2 separate regions of the Homo sapiens genome follow, and region 1 is linked to region 2. The links are contacts of gene promoters, found by promoter capture Hi-C in human tissues and cell types (Jung and others, 2019). All regions are on one chromosome and are shown on one strand. The core of a region is centred on a gene start or on the middle of the fragment in contact, and the rest is flanking DNA. Distances in the headings are between cores, read along the strand shown.

Evidence for each region. Contacts are between HindIII fragments. The study calls those that stand out against the background at their distance.
Region 1: a fragment that was not itself captured here is called in contact with the fragment with the promoter of TM4SF4 in region 2 in 1 of the 25 tissues and cell types used here (mesenchymal stem cells).

What each region holds. Positions count from the first base shown.
Region 1 is chr3:149,430,310-149,433,223 of GRCh38, forward strand. It overlaps the pseudogene RPL32P8. Among named protein-coding and RNA genes, the nearest start is that of TM4SF4, 43 kb to the right of the region's middle. The HindIII fragment of the contact is 3,608 bases long and covers 1-2,914 here.
Region 2 is chr3:149,473,444-149,476,585 of GRCh38, forward strand. TM4SF4 (transmembrane 4 L six family member 4) reads left to right here and starts at 1,254. Exons shown (of 5, transcript NM_004617.4): 1 at 1,254-1,608; 2 at 2,380-2,469. The coding sequence starts at 1,435. The HindIII fragment of the contact is 12,667 bases long and covers 1-3,142 here.

The DNA.
Region 1 (2,914 bases), core at 278-2,777, 43 kb before region 2:
TCTCTAATTACCAGTGTGGTTGAACATTTTTCCATAAGCTTATGAATTATTTATATTTCCTCTTTTGTGCACTATCCGTTCCTGGCCTTTACATGGCTACCAAGGGACCATCTGGCTTCTGTTTAAACATATCTGGTGACAAAAACACTACCATTTCCATTTCAAGGGCAGTAGTCCTGAAAAAGGGGCTATAATTGTTAGAAAATGCCTTATATTGAACTGAAGTCTTTTTATTAAGTTTAGTAACTTCTTAGTTCTATCAAGTGGAGCTTCCCAAAATGCCTTTCTCAGCAGATGACATCTTCTAAATGTTTGATGACAATTAGTATAGTCCCCCAAATTCTCCAACCTAACATTCTAGTTCCTTTAACTATTCATTTACTGTAATTTCTAAACTCCTCGTTATTGTGGTCATTCTCTCCTAGAAACACTCAAGAGAATTGTGTTGAGAAACACTTAATGCGAAAATGTTTCTTTCTTTCTTTCTTTTTTTTTTTTTTTTTTGATACAGGGTCTCACTGTCACCCCGGCTGGAATACAGTGGTGTATTCATGGCTCATTGCAGCCTCGACTTTCCAGGCTCAGGTGATCCACCTCAGCCTCCTGAGTAGCTGGGACTACAGATGCGCACCACCACCACAACCAGCTAATTTTTGTATTTTTAGTAGAGATGGGGCTCACCATGTTGCCCAGACTGGTCTCAAACTCCTGGGCTCAAGTGATCCACCTGCCTCAGTCACCTAAAGTGCTAGGATTACAGGCATGAGCCACTGCACCTGGCCTAATGTTCCTAATAAAATGTCTTTCTCTGGCTCTGTATTTTTCTTTCTACAAAATGGCTTGTAATGCAAAAGAGATAATTCTCTAATTCTTACCCTCTATTCTGTAAAACTGAGTACACTTCTGTATCTTTTAAGGTCTCAAGATGTAAGTCAAACTTTAACATAGAATTAAGCTTTTAGAATTAGAAAGAAACCATTGTAAATGATTTTATTTAATAAATACTACTGGGATATTTTTATCAAACTGAAATAGTATATTCAACCTGAGAAAGGTGATTTTTAAAAATTTTAAAAATAAACTAGTGCCAATTGCAGTTATTCGAGTGCTATACAAACCCAAGACACCATTTTACACTGACAGCAGGTTTCTGCGTTACAGTACCGCTTCCAGTATACATTTTCTTAACCTTTAAGGATTCTGCAATAATTAGATTATGAAATATTTCTGCCTTATGTAGTGCCAAATTATTTTTTTTAAATCATAGAATATCAGCTAAGGAAAGCACTTTACAGACCCTTCCAGTCCACTCTCCTACCCCAGTTTTCCAGAGAAACAAGCTGAAGTTCAGGGAGGCTAAGAGCTGTTACTAAGGACACACACACAGAGTCAGGGCAGATTTTTGAAGCAGAAGTCCATTGGTCAATCTTTACTGTAGATGTTCTTCAGCTTCTGAAAGAGATTGGTCACCGTGATACAGGGACACAGGACCCCTTTGGATTCTCAAAAGGTTTTCCTAGTTAAAGATATAACAGGTGATAGAATCTGCCAAAATAACTATAGTGAGACAACAGGGAGGGGCTCATAGAAAACACCACTTTTAGATATTAATCATGAGGAATCTAGACAGGATTTTACTGTAGATTGTCTTTTCCAAAGAAAGCCACAACAATAAATCTTTAAGAAGTTTTTATCACCGTTAAATCTACAGATCTACAAGAAATAATAAGCTGTTGGTTTAAGCTATGAAAATCTGAGTGGTTTATTACATAGAAATAGGTCACTGGAACAGGTTAAGTCACCCCCAATTCTTATTTGTCTTTTTTTATAAACTGTTTCTAAATGAATAGGAATCATTAACAGAATGCTAGTGAACCGTGTGTAAATATATTTGGTTCCCTAATGCTAATGTTTAAAACCATTGACCCTCTTTCCCAACCCTATATATTTAGTTTATATGTTGTATTTCAATCCTTGTCAGAACCCTTTAAGAAAGATACTGGCATTCTCACTTCACAGATGAAGTACTCTAGACCGAAAGATAAGAAACACTCCTAGCAGGTAATGGGGCCAGATTCAGACCCACAGCTCACTAACTTTAAATCTGCAGTTCCTTCTACTTTCAAAATTGGCAAAAAGGCAAGACCTTCATTTGTTCTAAGAGAAGCCCTGGCTATAGTTGAACATTAGGAATTAGAAGCAACATTAGGGCCCATCAAGTCTATCTCTACTGATAAATGGCAAAAACCATACAGTTGACCCTTGAACAACGTGAGAGTTAGAGGCGCCAACCCCTGTGCAGTCAAAACTTCATGTATCACTTTTGACTTCCCCAAAACTTAACTACCAATAGTTCTGCTGTTTAGCAGAAGGCTTCCCGGTAAAATAAACACTCAATATTTTGTGTGTTATATGTTTTATATGCTATATTCTTACACTAAGGTAAGCTAGAGAAAAGTTATTAAGAAAATCATAAGAAAGAGAAAATATATTTACTATTCATTAATTGAAAGTGGGTCATCATAAAGGTCTTCAACCTCCTCATCTCCATGCCTAGTAGGCTGAGGAGGAAGAAACAAAGGAGGGCTTGATCTGGCTGTCTCAGGGGTGGCAGAGGCAGAAGAAAATCCACACATAAGTGGACCCACAAAGTTCAAACCCGTGTTTGTTTGTTTGTTTCCAGTTCCTATGGTTGTATTTAAACACAAATAAAACGTAGACATGAGCTGTTTGTTCATTTTCCCCGCCGCACAGCCTGGCATTAGGACTGGTGACTCTGAGGGCCAGCTGGGCTGCTCTTTCCACCATAGCTGTGCTGTTCTTGGAGGAAACACCGAGTGATCTCAGCACGGTAAGATTTCTTGCACGGCAACAGCACTTCCAGTTCCTTGACACTGTGGATCAGGAACTTTCA
Region 2 (3,142 bases), core at 4-2,503:
TGACCCTGAGATTTCTAAGTATCTTTATAAAGCAACCAGTACTCATTTCTTAGAAATTTTAGAAGGAGCCTCAACATTTTTCCAGTCTGACTTTTCTGGAATCCTTCCCACAGCTTCCCTTTCCAAGGGCCTCTGAGCCTTGGCAAAGCCCAGTCCATGGCTTCCTTGTGAGCAGGTGGCCTATTCCACGGTAGGACAGGTCTTACCATGGTAATAATGTCACTTGCTTTTTATTTAGCTAAAATTTGACTCCCTAAAATATTCGACCTATTTTAACCTCTAGATTCTCAATGAAGAACTAGTAAGACTTCCAGTTCCACCTCTTAATCCTTCAGCTGTTATGTAATACCAGTACCAGGCAGGGCCATCGCATAATGTAGAGCTTGGTCCAGGCGTGGCAGAGAACTTCTTAAGTGACACAAAGCAAATGAATGAATCATGCCCCTGGCAGTTGGCAAACTTTCTAATAGGGGTGTGTTTTACTGCCTCCTGCACTCTATAACTGCTCTTCCAACTGTGTCTTCTCCCCAGTCAACTCATCAGGACCTTTTCTCTCCCTCTCTACCAATGCTGACCTTCCTTTCCCCTTAGCCTTAGTGGATGATGGTTTCTTTATTCCTATATGGAAGACATAGCTGAGAAAGTTGATTAGGAAAACTGTTTTTGCTAATTCCATCACATCGTGTAGGGAAAAGATAGAACTTAATTACTTAATTGCGTAACAAGTAGAGAAACACAGCAATCAGACAATAAAATGAACAGTAGCTTTTTGCCTTAAACAATTCTTTTAAGTCTGAGCTCAATGATACACAACTAGACCATCAAATTATTTTGATATTGAGGAAAACAGAAGCTCTTTTGGATAACCCTGAATTCCAGGCTTTCAGTGGAAAAGACAAAGACACGCACTGTACACCATTAAGTACTTGGGAGACATGATTTTAACCAGGATGTAACTCAATTATATTAGTGATTTATAAAGAGTCTGGAGAAAATATTTCTTTATTTGGGCATGGGCACTGTCAGATTAAAGGTGCAGTGGTTCTAAATGCTGTTTGTTCCAGCCCTGTCTTCGATTGCAACAATGTGAGTGTCTTGTCTGTGCTGGTGGATTATTAACAGAGGTTATTGGTCTCCATGGCAAAACGATTGAATGATTGCTCTGAACGTAATCTCATTTATGGGGGTGCAAAAAACAAAGCACTTCAGGTCAGGGAGAATGTATAAATGTCCATTGCCATCGAGGTTCTGCTATTTTTGAGAAGCTGAAGCAACTCCAAGGACACAGTTCACAGAAATTTGGTTCTCAGCCCCAAAATACTGATTGAATTGGAGACAATTACAAGGACTCTCTGGCCAAAAACCCTTGAAGAGGCCCCGTGAAGGAGGCAGTGAGGAGCTTTTGATTGCTGACCTGTGTCGTACCACCCCAGAATGTGCACTGGGGGCTGTGCCAGATGCCTGGGGGGGACCCTCATTCCCCTTGCTTTTTTTGGCTTCCTGGCTAACATCCTGTTATTTTTTCCTGGAGGAAAAGTGATAGATGACAACGACCACCTTTCCCAAGAGATCTGGTTTTTCGGAGGAATATTAGGAAGCGGTGTCTTGGTGAGTAGGGAAGCTTAAAATCCCCCTAAGGGAGATTTTCCCTTCCCCACAATCCTTTTTAAATCAGGTACTTATTGAACAGGGAGATATTTAGTTGGTAATAGAAGCTCAAGCATTGCATGGTGAGAGGTCAATGCCTTAATTTTTTTCTCGTTTCTGTTAGGATCTGACAAGGACACGTCAGCTAAATTTACTAAGTAATTAATCTCTAAGCTTGGGCTGACAGTTCTCATGGGTCATTTGAGTCCCATGAACCGAAGTGAAGGTCGCATAGTTTCTTGATTCCAACAAGATAGTGCCCAAAACAATAACAACAACAAACCCACGATGCAAACCCACTAGAAAAGCAAATTGACTTAAAACCACCATGAGAAGCTGTTGTCAGTGTGGTCGTCTTCCACTTAGGACCTAATGATTTCTTTACCTCTGGTTTCCAATAGAATTGGGAACCTCCGTTTGAGAGAGTGAAAGGGAGAGAGACTCACTCTTCATGACAATTGAGGAAAAGTTTGTTATTCTTTTTTCTAACACACCATCTAAATGGAAACTCAGATTTTGAAATCTTGCCTCATTGAAGCTGGTTAGTCAGCCCAAATGGAATCTAAGTACTCCATAACACTCCATTACCCCTCCAGCCATGCTCTGTTACTTTGCCATTCCCTTTGGGCCTCCAAATCCCTCATTGTGGATGGGGCTCCTTATACAGTCAGGCAGGCTCGGGCCCTCCCTTCAACTCCTGGACTCTCTCTGAGGTGCCTCTTCTCCTGGTAGATGATCTTCCCTGCGCTGGTGTTCTTGGGCCTGAAGAACAATGACTGCTGTGGGTGCTGCGGCAACGAGGGCTGTGGGAAGCGATTTGCGGTGAGTTACCATGGGGGGCAGCTACTAGAATTACTCCAGGGTGCTCTGTGCTTTTGTGCTGGGCAGCATGGGGATGGAGACAAGTTATCAGCTCCAGCCAGGACTCTGGGAGCAGCTGGTGAAGGGATAAAACTGTGATTTTTCCTGCCAGTGTGAAATAATAATAATTTTCCAAAATACCATAGCCCTCATACTTATAGGGTATGAATATTGTATTAGATTTTACAAACCGACAGGGATGTCAGAACTGGAGATTCAGAGGGGTCCCATATACAGAATGCAAGCCTGGAAGGCAGAGATGAAGCTGCAGCATTCCTCTGCCACTGAGAGGCCATAAGAACTTGGACAAGTCATTTCCCTTTTCTGGCCCTGAATTGCCTCATCTGCAAAGGGGACTTGGGACAGGACAAAAGATGGTATCCTCCCCTCCCCAGTAGGCTTCTAGGTTCCTCACTCACACCACTTCCATGTTCTCTATTTCTGAGGCCCAGCGCCTCTGGCTTCCACCAGGCTCTGCTTCAGGACTTCTGTTTCCTCTCTTGTTTCATGCGGCCATCGATCTTGAACTAGAGACGTTAGGCATCAAAGTTCCAGAGTGCAGTGGAAAGAATGCTGGGACATGGGGACAGGACCCATTCTGCAATTGAGCAAGTCATTCTACTGCTCTGCCTCC